Regions from separate parts of the Homo sapiens genome. Here region 2 is linked to region 1. Evidence: promoter capture Hi-C in 16 types of primary human blood cells and fetal thymus (Javierre and others, 2016). All regions are on one chromosome and are shown on one strand. Each heading gives the region's core, a stretch centred on a gene start or on the middle of the fragment in contact. The rest is flanking DNA. Distances are from core to core; before and after follow the strand shown.

Region 1 (6,056 bases), core at 956-3,455:
ATCTCCCCCAGATTCATATGTTGAATCCTAACCCCAGGAGAGGTGGTATCAGCAGTGGGGACTTTGGGAGGTGGTGAGGTCATGAGGGTGGAGCCCTCATGAAGGGGATTAGAACCCTTATAAAACAGGCCCCAGAGTGAGGCCCCAGAGTGAGAAGATGCCATCTATGAATCAAGAAAACGTCCTGCCAGGCACCAAATCTGCTAGGCACTGATCTTGGACTTCCTAGCCTCCAGAACTGTGAGAAGTACATTCCTTTTGTTTATCAACCCCCCTGTCTATGGTATTTTGTTATAGCATCCTGAAGACTAAGACATCTTGCTTCCATCCTCATCTCCTATGACTAACTCTGATCCTCCTATCTCCCTCTTACAAGAACCTTTCTGGTGACATTGGACCCACAATGATTGTGAGGTTAAAGCAGGATAATCTCCCCATCTCAAGATGCTTAACTTCATCACATTTATCACATTTGCAAAGCTCTTTCGCCATGTAAGGTAACATTCACCTTACATGGGTTCCAGGAATAAAGATATGGATGTCGTCCTTGGAGGCCATCATTGAGCCTGCTATGACTGGCAATTAAATTTATCATTTTTAAAAACCTCATTTCACATGTGGCCACAGAACTGTTCAATGTCTGCTGCTCAGAGGACTGTGCACTCAATGAAGTCACGTTGGATTTATCCAGTGTCGCATCCCCAGCTCAGAGCCCGGAGGCTAGTACACAGGACCCACTATAAATGGTGCCTGATTGAGGGTCTGTTTCTACCTGGATCGTCAGCTTTGTACTGGGCCCATGAGGCAGTTCTCAGGACAAGATCCATCACAGAACCAACATCCACCAGACACAGATCCACCCGCTGAGGCCAGAAAAGTGGATCTTGTGGAGAACAATGTCATTTTTGTGCCACAGGACAAAGGTCTGACTGCCCGAACCCAGTCACAACCTGGACTTGATGGCCTCTCCTCTCCTGAGGTGGGACAGGATCAGTAGCAACTGGTGACTTCCCATTAATAGCAATAAGAATAACAACCGACAGCTTGCTAAGTGCTGAGCTCTTTACATGCCGAATTTATCTGATTCCTCATAACCTAGCAAGGAGGTGCCATATTAACACCATTTTACAGAAGGGAGCATGGGCTCGAGAGGGGAAGTAATTTGCTCAAAGTCACACAGCTAGTAAGTAGTGTGGCCAGGACTCAAACCCAGATTTTTCTGAATCCAAAGTCGATGCTCTTTGCACTCCATTGCACTGCACTTTGGATGTTCAACCAACGTGGAAGGAGGACAAAACCTAATTTCCCATTAAAATCCCTCGGAGGCAGGGCTGCTGGGCTGAGACCACCCACCATCTTCCAGCTGCATCTTTATTCTCCAGGGGACCCTTGTCCCTGGCATTCTGTGTGCTTGGGCAGGGTTGCCTGTCTGCCAATGATGGTTTCATCAGACCCAAGCTCCACTCTCCAGCTCATTAGGATTTCAAATGTGCAGCTGTGTAGGAAGCCTCCACAGCCACTTTGCGAATGTTGATAAAGCAACGTTGCCATCAGTCTGGGCTTTGTCCCTGCACTGCAGGGGACACATGTGGGAGGATGACACTGACCACCACCTCCTCCTGCTCCTGTCCCACACAGAGCAAGGTGTCTGGGGGAGGCAGAAGCAACCAAGACTGCCTTGAATAGCAATATGGTGCCATGTAACACGGGTCCCAGTGTGATGGAGGGGTGGAAGGGATTATGTGGACACAGTCATAGATCACGCTCTCACAAAGATGTCTCTGTGAGAGTGGGAGAGCATGGGAAGCAAAAATGGATTGGCAGGGCAGGGAAGTGCAGGCAGCTCTCCTCTGGGAGAGAACACGAAAGAACAGGACTTGCTTTTCTCTAGGAAGGGAGATCCCATAGATTCACTCCTGTCACTTCCCATCAGCCAAGCTTTCATCTTAGGCGTCTGGAGTGCTGAGCTACTTTCTTGTTCCCACAGCCTAACCAAGCATCTGCCTGCCTGGGTCTCTCTCCAGAAGCACTACAGCAGCTCCTTTGTGCCTGGCGTGGATCAGAGAGAGCTTGCCCGCTGTCCCTCTGGCTACCCAGCCACGTGGCTTCCTTCTGCCCGCCTTTCCCACCCCGCCTCTCCCACTCCGCCTCCTGCAGTTTGATGCCCCACTTGGGAGACAGTAGAGATGGGGCGTGTATTAAAACAGGAATCGAAGCTTCACTGAGAGTTTCACACCATCATTGGGCACAAAGGAGGTTGTGAAATGGACCACAGGGGATTTCTCTCACCTTTTTATCTGCCCCTCAGTGCTAAGGTATTGTTTTTTTTTTTTAACCTGTGGCTGATAATAATGCCTAATAAGTTAAAAATGCCCTCATCTGTTGGCAGAACAGTAGAAATAAATGAGAAATGTAAATGACTCATTTTTTAAAAAAATTAAAAGGTAGAGGCTCCTGGGTAAGCAGAGAAATTGACTTCTAAGCACCACCTGAGGGAGGCACGGATACCACTGAGGCACACTCCTCCGCCAGGCAGATGATCTCCTTCTCCTTTTATCCCGAAATCCTACTCCCCACTTGGGGAGCCTGGGGCCAACAGAGGCAGGTCTTTTCCCTGCATCTTCTTTCTTGCCCCTTGTTGCTTAAATGTGGCTATTTTCCTTCATCTTCTTAAACGCTGTCTTCCCAGGTGAAATATAAAGAGGGATCCAACAACACAGCTACGACTTCCTGGTCACACCATTGCCTGGGAAGCTTTCAGCTTTCTGTTTTTAGACTTAGATTGATCTCCTGGTCGAGATCCATATGCTTGTGAGATGGGCATCCTCATTAGCCTTGCTGATGAGGCAGCCGTGGATGTCGTGGGATGTGCGGGTAAAGCAGTCCCCTTCCTCTAGCAGGAAGATGAAAGCTGCCCAGACAGCCTGAGAAGCACCTTCCCATCATCCAAGCTTTCATTTTAGGCCTCTGGGGTGCTGGGCTGGGGAAGGCTGCCTGGCATTTTCAAATGGTTGGAGATACTGCTCAATGCAAGCCTGTATCCTGGACCAGCCTCAGGGGAAGGGCGACGGACTGAATTGTGTCCCCCAAAATTTAGACATTGAAGTCCTAACCCCCAGCACCTCAGAATGTGACTGTACTTGAAGAGATGATTCAGTTAGAATGAGGTCATTAGGGTGGGCCCTAATCCAGCAGGACTGGTGTCCTTATGAAGAGGGGAGATTTGGACATAGAGACAGACAGGTGCTAGGGAAAGCACCACGTGAAGATTGGAGTTATGCTGCCAAGGATCTACAAGGAGCTGGGAGAGAGGCCGGAGCAGGTCCTTCCCAGAGCCCTCAGGGGCAGCATAGCCCTGCCGACACCCTGATTTCAGTCTTCTGGCTTCCAGAACAGTGAGACGATATATTTCTGTGGTTCTAAGCCACCCAGTTTGTGGTACTTTGCTCTGGCAACCCTAGCAAAGAATACAGAGGGACTAAAAGGAGGTCCACGGATGCGCTGCTGAAACCAGGAATCCAGGTCAGGCCCGATTTGTCCTGTTCCAACTAGAGATGTGCTCCTCCTTCAGGAAGAAATCCTGCTTTTGCCAGAATGTACTCTTGTCTCTCCTTCTGGCCCTTTGGGCTCAAGAGTTCCACTGCTGTGATTCATGCAGAACAAAGAGGGAGCGCCTCAGCCTGGCTGTCAAGCCCTTCATCCATTCACCGATGTATTCATTCAGCAAGCGACTGCCAGCCGCCTATCAGGAGAGAGGTGAGTTCTGCTCACGGGGAACATCCCCTTCTTTTTCCCTGGGAAAATCTGCAACCCAAGCACCTATCTTCCAGAAGACCCACCTCCTTCTCGTCTCCTCTAGTTATGAGCCCTTGTCCCGGCTGTCACGGCCGTTTATCACACTCATCTCCAGTCCTAGCTCAGCTTGCCCACGTCCAACTCAAATCCTCCTTTTCCACGAAGTCTTCCCCCCAGACTCCATGAACTTTGTGGTTCATCTCTGTTCTGCCATCACCTCTCGCTTACCTCCGACTGTGGCCCTCGCCATCATCTGTCTGAGGTCTTAGTTACTTATCTACTTGACCGTGTCCCTCACTAGATCAGGACTTCCAGAGTGAGCCGTTCAATCATCTTTGTGTCCCTAGTACAGAGCCTGTGCAGAACGGGCACTCAACAGTGTCTTCTGAATTCACTGATTTCGTGCTGTGTGCTCTGGGGAGCTGCAAAAGGGCAGGACGCGTCTGGGCTCCCCTAGGCAAAGGTCCCAGTGCTGCAGCCCAAGGCATCCTCTGTGTCTCCTACTAGGGATCCCACTTCTCACTCTCGATGTGGCCTCCCCTCGCTGCCTGTTCATCCCGGCTCACTCCCTGGTCCTGCACTGGGGGCTGGAACACAGACTTCCTGGGGGTCCCGCCGTGGTGGGAGCTCCTGGGTTCCACTTGTTTGGGTTGTTTTAGATTCTTCCCCACTTCAGATGAGGAAAACAAGAGCCATTCTCCCTTCTGACTTTCCTTCCTTTTCTTTTCTCAGATCCCTCCAGTGTAGGAGGGTGGGAGGGAGAGCTGGTCCAGGGGTGAGGGGAGACTCCTTTCTCACAGGGAGTTTTCAGATAAAGGCTCTGGGAATCCTGAGAAGGGTGGAAGGTGCAGGAATGGACGCCGTGGAGTACAGGCTGGCTGGCTGGACAACACACACTTCCCATTGAGCCAGCAACTCGGATTTAGGAGCCAGCAGATGGTGACCGAAGTGCCCTGCTCTCTGGAAGTCCAGGCACCAGCTCAGCTCCACACTAGCCTAGGCCCTGCAAGCAGAATAAGCTGACCCTCCCCAACCTGCCGGCCACCCATTCAGGAGCACTGCTGGGTGTTTATCCAGCAACCCTTAGAGCTGGGCTTCAGGGTTGGGCCCTGAATTCAAACCCTAATTTTACGTGACCTAGTTTCTTGCCCTCTGTGAGACTTCGTGTCCTCACGTGTGAATTGGGGTGATGATACCCACCCCAAAGGCCTGCCTCAAGGTTTAATGATGGTGTGCATGGAAGGCCCTGGGTTCAGGGACTGGCACTCTACTCATGGTGGTTCTCGGTAGAATGAGAACCCCAGAGAGAGCTTCCCCGACAGCTGCAGGGACCATTGTTTTTCTGCTGTTGACCTTCCATTATCCTCTATAACAGTATCCCAATTTTGCTTTGAGAAGTTGCCTTTTCTCCACTGAGCACAGCCTGGTAGGGCTGGAATTAGGACTCCAGTACCACTGCCTTCACCCTGACAAGGGGTAGGCACATGCCTGTGTGAACCCTGAGAGAGCCAGCCCTTCGAGATGGATCCTGAGGGGCTATCCGGGTCTGAATTCTGAGTGGCGCTGAAAGCCATTTGCCTACTGCAGGTTCCCTACATGCCCTGTGCAAGCCGAACAGTAGCTCAATGTTGGGGCCTTCTTAGCTGTCTGTTCCTGCTCACACTGCCAGAATCAACTGCTGCCGACGTCCTCATTCTACCACCTGAACCTGACCAATGAAATGTGACCCGTGGTCAACTTTAACATCAGCAAATCAGAACTGAACAAGCTTGCATCCCTCAGATGCAATGGGAACTGGGATTAGAATCTAAGCAGAAACTTTTTCTATGCAGGATAGCCCTTCTCTTTGTTCTGGCAGACGTGCCTTTGTTTTATACTGAAGGCTGAGTCTCCCCAGTTGGCAAACTGCTGGTTGGAATAAAGACTCTTTTTAAAAACATTCCTTTTCAGTGGATTCGTTAACACCCTATTCGAGGCCAGCAGGATGATAACTCCTTGGAATTCAAAACTGAACAAAGAGACAAAGAGACCTGGAGAGATGGGTGTTTGTTCCATAGTTCCTTGAGCAGATCCCTGCTATCAGAGCATTCCTGTATATGCTGCTTCTTCACACTTGGGGAAGCCTTGGGAGCCAGAATGCCTGGGTTTGAATCCCAGCTCACTGACCCTGTGACATTAGGTGAGTCACTTACTCTCCCTGCCCTCATTTTCCTCAAATGCAAAAGGCGGGTAATAGCAGTAAGTGCCTAACAGCTATAGTG
Region 2 (6,175 bases), core at 1,862-4,361, 370 kb after region 1:
CACTTTCTTCATCTGCAACGTGGGTGTGATGATGCTTCCGACTCTTGGGCTCTTGGGAGGGTCACACAGGAAGCAGGAGAAAGGCCTGGCTCCAAGAACAACAGCTGCTTTATTGGGGCCACCTTTGGACACAGTGCTATCTGTTCAAATCTGGTCCTCCATGCAGCCTCTTCAGCTTCTCTCTCCCATCCATGAGGATGGCTTCTCCCCATTAACCCCAAAAAGCCACCTGCCTGCCAGCCTCATGCCTGAGCTCCCCTACTTTACCTCCTGCCCTGCCTTACATGCTATGTACTCTTTTCCTTATTTATGCAAATGTATGGGGGCTCTGCTGCCCCAGGTTCTTCCCTGTGTAGCCTTGAATCCCTTCTCTTTTGTTTTTTTACTCTTTTTTTTGTCATCCCCAACACCCCAAAGTAAACTGAAACAATGCTCCCTTCTCTTCAAATAGTGTATCAGTTATCTATTGCCACACAACCCTGCCTCAAAACAACATCAGAATTCCATGGCTTAGAACAATAGGCATCTATTTAGCTCCTAGGTCCATGGGCCAAGGATTGGGGGTCTCAGCAGAACTGTTCTGGACTCAGACTCGGTCATGTGTCTGCAATCAGCTGGCACAGGGCTATCAGGGTGAATGAACTGTGTGTCCCTCTTGTACTCTGGTCAAGTTAGACTGCTGTGTTCTCATGGAAGTGGTTGAGAACGAGAACGAGCTTTTTCAATCCTCCAGTTGTGTCCCATTGGCCGACACAAAGCAAATCCCAAGGCTGGTCCCAGAGTCAGAGGGGAGGCACTCCAAAGTGATAGGACAGGGACTATGGCACAGGCCAGGAGAAGGGTAGGGCCACATGCAATCAATCTGCCACAGATGGCACCAGGAGCACTCACTCCTCTATGACAGAGGTCTGTTCCTGCAGCTGCCTCATTCCACCTCCACCATGCTGCAGCTCCTAGTAGCAGGAACTGCATCAAACTCATGGCTGTGTCTCCAGCATTTAATTTATCACCGTGCCTGGCTCATAGGAGACCCTCAGTGGTAGTGGATTTAATTGAATGTTTCCTCTCATCTTAAACTCAGTCTCAAGGAGCTCATTATGCATTTTTTTAAAGCCTGCAGCATCCGGTATTCCCATGTGGTCTCCCACCCTAGTACTAACCAGGCCAGACCCTGCGTAGCTGACAAGATCAGGTGCATTCAAGGTGGTATGGCCGTAGACTGTGCTCCACTTTTAAACAGCTGTCTTTGTGCCTCTGTAATCAAATGCCTTGCCTCATTCCAGGGCCCATTTAGCCCCCAATAGACCAAGCTCATGGTCCCTGTGGTCAAGATGCTTGATGGAGCCATTTATAACAGCTGTTCTCCCCTGCAACCTTACCCGTCCATATCTGTACTTTTGAAAGCCACTGTTAACCTTTGGGCACATTCAAGCCATTCATCAGCATCTGAAGCCTCTCTGACTTTTCAGTAACAAGCAGGTATCTCTTCTTCAGAACATTCTCTTCCCAGCAGTATAGGACCATGGATAGAACTTGGCCTTCAGTCTCAGAGAGACCCAGGTTGCACCACCTTTCAGTGGTGTGGCTCTAGGCCAGGGTATCTGCTTCACTCCACTGCAGAGTTGGCTTCTCTCTGGGTCTTAGCTATCGGCCCTCTCCATCTCCTCTCTGTAGCCTTGAATCAAACTCCTTTTCTGAAGACCTAGAAGGTAACTGCACTTCTGGAAGCCTTTGGAGCCCAAGAAGAGGGAGGGTTTGGGTTGAGGGGATGTGTTTTTGTTTTAGAAGTAGTGGTGGGAAAAGCATGGACTTCAGATTCAAACAGGCCAGAGTTCAAATCTCTCTCTAGCCCATGCCAACAAAACTCTGGGCTGCGTGATACATCTCATAACGTCTCTGACATCTCCTTTATTTTACTATTATTATTATCATTTTTTTGGAGTTGCATGTTACTTTTTTATTACTATTTTTAAAAATTCTTCATTTTTCTATGTCCTAATGCCAGGCTTCTGTAAGGCTCTATACCTTTAGGTGTTCTCTTTTCACACTTGCTTTCTTATGAAAGCTTGGCTTTTAAATGACTTACCTGAATTGGCACCTTTTAAATTCAAATCACCACCTCCAAAATCTCACGAAGAATCCACTCCCACACTCTAATTTTCTGTCAGGATGTTTTTATGTTGATATTCCACAACGATCTCAAATCTCAAACTGAAATATACTCCTGGTCACAATGACCGATTTTGTTTTTGGTTTTGAGACAAGGTCTCACAATGTTGCCCAGGCTGGTCTTCAGCTCCTGGACTCACATGATCCTCCCAGCCTCCGGAGTAGCTGGGGTTACAGGCTTGTGCCACCACACCTGCCTCCAGTTTACTCACTTGTGTTAGTGGGACCGTTTTCTCTCTCTGTCCCATGGTCACATCAGCCATCTTTGCTTCATCCTTCCTTTTCATGGCTCCTACCATTCTTTCTCTTCTATCGGGCTTTAGGCTGGCCCACCACTGTTCCTCCAGAAGGTTGTATGGACATGAGTAAGTATTCCTCTCTCTGCGCCTGTTCTACCTTCTTTCAAAGACAACATTAGAATTCCTGAATTTATAAAGTGAGGAAATGAAGCACTGATTGGTTTTCATTTGTCTGGGCCACATGTTCCCGGGCACAATTAAGGGCAGTGTCTAGATACTTCAGACACGAGAAGAGGGTGAGAGAGGCAGTTTGAGAAACAAAATTCTCTGTGCTTCTCTTTCATCCTCTCTGAGAACCAAAAGTAGTATCAACCCCACACCCCTGGTGAATGCATGTGAGAAGCCTTGGCCTCTGACCTCTTCACATCCTCAGATGCAAAGGCATGAACAAGGATGGTGGGATTTCTTCCATGCCTGGCTGAGTTCTTTCCAAGAAGATGATCTCATTTGTCTTGGTGAAAGGCTTATTTTTAAAATGCACATTCCATTTTCCATTATTTAATAGGCACATAATGTCTTGCAGCTTCCTTCGAAGTGATTTCATGCATGGTGATTCCATGTGTTTCTCCAGTTCCTATATGCTCCTCAATGAATCTCTATATATTTCTTTCCACACTATGGTAATAAAAACACATTGGGCAGTGTGTGGCTGTGGTTTCATTTCAGAAAAACTTTAGTCTAGAACATCAATGCCCTGTGACTTAGGAGCAGGGGCTGAGAGGGAGACTGTATGGCAGATGATCCTGTACTGCCTCTTCCAAAAATAGTTAGACAGGGGAGACTCTGGGGTGTAAGCGTGTGTAGGGTGGGAGGGGCAGGAATAGAAAATAATGTTAAATAAACAAAAATCATGACATTTATTAAAGATGGCGAAGGAGGCCAGGCGCGGTGGTTCATGCCTGTAATCCCAGCACTTTGGGAGGCCGAGGCGGGCAGATCGCAAGGTGAAGAGATGGAGACCATCCTGCCCAACATGGTGAAACCCCGTCTTTCCTAAAAATACAAAAATTAGCTGGACATGGTGGCACGAACCTGTAATCCCAGCTACTTGGGAGGCTGAGGCAGGGGAATCACTTGAACCTGGGAGGAGGAGGTTGCAGTGAGCCGAGATTACGCCACTGCACTCCAGCTGGCGACAGAGCGAGACTCCATCTCAAAAAAAAAAAAAAAAAAAAAAAAAGAAAAAGAAAAAGAAAAAAAAGATGGTAAGGGAGACTTTATTCAGGATCATCGACATAGGTGTAAGGATCACAGCAGTGGTGTTCTGCAGCTGGGGAGAGAGACTGGGCTCAACTCTGAATACAACAAGGAAAAGTGAGAATTTATAGCCAAGGAGTAGAGTGGAGGGAGAGGTCACTGGATGGAAAATTAGTAAGAGGAAGCATTAGGGCTGAGGGGGATTCTGGCTAAACCAACCCAACAGGATTCTTGCTGAAGGCAGGCCAGGGTGATCAGACATCACCTGGCAAATGGTGGAAGACGAGGAACCTGATCAGATATCGATGGCGATCAGATATTGAGTGTGGACAATCTAGTTAAACTGACTTAGCAGGGTTCTTGCTAAAACTGGACAATGCAGACATGAACATGGAAGTCCGAAAGTTGTGTCCATTTAAAAATTTATGTTTGCAAGAGCTTCCAGAACCATGTTGTAAAAATCATAGACAAACATGAAACCGGGAAGCTTTCAAAACCCAGGATTCAGAGAACACTGACAACTCTTTGCAGGAGGTTGCAAATTCAACCTCAGAGATGTCTGGAAAAATATTCTACTCAAGCTTGGTCTTGATTTCCAAAGATCTACAAATCTAGTGAAGTTCTTGCTGAAGTGAAAATAGCCACCAGCCAACTGAAGCTAGAGGTTGAAGCAAAGGAAGTTTGAAGGCTGATGGCTCCTCAGTCTCAGAAACCACCCTGTGATGAGCACACCCACCAGTGATGAACACGCCCACCTTCATGAACAAAGGGAGGCGTGAGCTCTCTGGACAGTCCTGATCAAGGGGCCATGATAAGAAGTCAAAGGCATGAGAAAACAGTGATAGTGATTTTTAAGGAAATGGATTTCAATTTAAAAGTAATCAGAACAAAGTTACAGTTTTAGTTGTACAGAAAAATTGAACAGCAAGCAGAGACGGGTCTCATATATCCCATTTTCCCCCTCTCTTCCTCCACAGTTTCTCCTATCACTAACACACACACACTCATGCAAGCGCGCGCACACACACACACACACACACACACACATATTAACACTGATGTGGTATATTTATTGCAATTGATGAACCAATATTGACACATTACTATCAACTGAAATCCATCATTTACATTTGAGTTCACTCTTTGTGTTGTACAGTTCCAAAAGAACCTTCTGATTTTTGTGGAAAAATGCAGAAGTTAATTTAGAGAAAAAAAACTTTATAGTTAGAAAAAATGGCTAAGGTGATTGACTACTCATTAATCTGAATTACATATTCTTTAGAAAGATTTATTCTGTGCAGCGTGTAAGTATAAAATTTGCATTACCTCTGGTCTTTCCTATAAGAGTTGTATCAAGAATTTCATCATTACAATTAATTGCATGCATATATACTTTTCTATGGGAAATAACTTTTTACTAAAAACACATTACATGTTACCTCTAGACAACCTATAGTCATGGCACAAATTGCATCTTTGCTTTCTCAGATTCCAAAAGTCTTTGTGTAACCACTGTCCTCAGCAATTGTCACCATTACTTGGCCCAGTGCCATTGTGCAAGGGAAGGAAGGTTTTGTCTTGGCTCAGTGGTAGAAGGACTAACACACTCTCTTCCCACATGGAGACATACTAGAGAGGATATTCTGGCCTCCCTGCAGCCTCAAGTTCTCTCTTCCCTGGGTGAATAGCTACTCCACAGATCTGTATCTACATGGAGAGGTCATGCATGTGTTCTATGCACTTTCAGCACCACCTAGGTACAGAGTTTGTCAGTCTTAGGTGCTAACCTCTCAGCTCCACACTCACCCACATATACTCTGCACTGTAGCACTGAGGCTGGTTCTATGCAAAACCCATTTCTGTTTTATAGCTGCTCTTTGTGAGGCCATGACAGTAAGAGGCTTAAAAGGAGACTGAGAGGCTTGAGGAGGAAGAGGAGACTTGCTCCTTCTTGTCTGCCTTCTGTCCACTTACTGTTGCTATGAGCATCACCCTGAATTCTCCACCCCAGCAGCAGTAGAAACTTCCTATAGCTGCAGCAAAAGCCAGTTTGCAGTTTTTCTAACCCTTGTAGAGCCAGCCTAAAGGCACTCTCTTCAGAGCTGCCACATTGCCCTCAGGACTAACCCATTCTCCACAATCCAGATTTAAGCAGCACTTCGGAGGAGTTTGCCCAGTAATGTATACATCTGATTCTTTGTTCAGCATCTGGCTATTGCTATTTGTGCATTGACTCCACTGGTCAGAACCAAAGACAGCAGGAGAGGTAAGTGCAGCCAAATTCATCTAGCCTCACAGTGACCTTCCTATAATCCATACTGCCAAGTGAGGTATCTGCAAACTACAGATACTTTGCCAACTGGCTTACTGTTAGGTACCGTGAATAGGAGAGAGGGCCTGGGAGAAAATCAGAACACAGAAAGAAGAGAGAATCTTCTATTTCTGGTTTGACAGTGGGGTAGTTTCTGGCAGTTGTAACACCAGCAAGAACAGGGTAACACCTGAGCAAA

The links. The method cuts DNA at HindIII sites, captures the fragments that hold promoters and counts their contacts. A CHiCAGO score of 5 or more calls a contact.
Region 2: a fragment that was not itself captured here is called in contact with the fragment with the promoter of TRIM67-AS1 in region 1 in 1 of 17 cell types (erythroblasts); the score reaches 5.2 in erythroblasts.

Annotation. Positions count from the first base shown.
Region 1 is chr1:231,183,776-231,189,831 of GRCh38, reverse strand. TRIM67-AS1 (TRIM67 antisense RNA 1) reads left to right here and starts at 2,205. Exons shown (of 3, transcript NR_166514.1): 1 at 2,205-2,315; 2 at 3,659-3,756; 3 at 4,596-5,734. All of the region lies in intron 1 of TRIM67 (tripartite motif containing 67), which reads right to left. RefSeq lists an enhancer at 5,489-6,017. The HindIII fragment of the contact is 278 bases long and covers 1,941-2,218 here.
Region 2 is chr1:230,815,295-230,821,469 of GRCh38, reverse strand. It overlaps the pseudogene RNA5SP79. Among named protein-coding and RNA genes, the nearest start is that of CAPN9-AS1, 23 kb to the right of the region's middle. The HindIII fragment of the contact is 2,087 bases long and covers 2,068-4,154 here.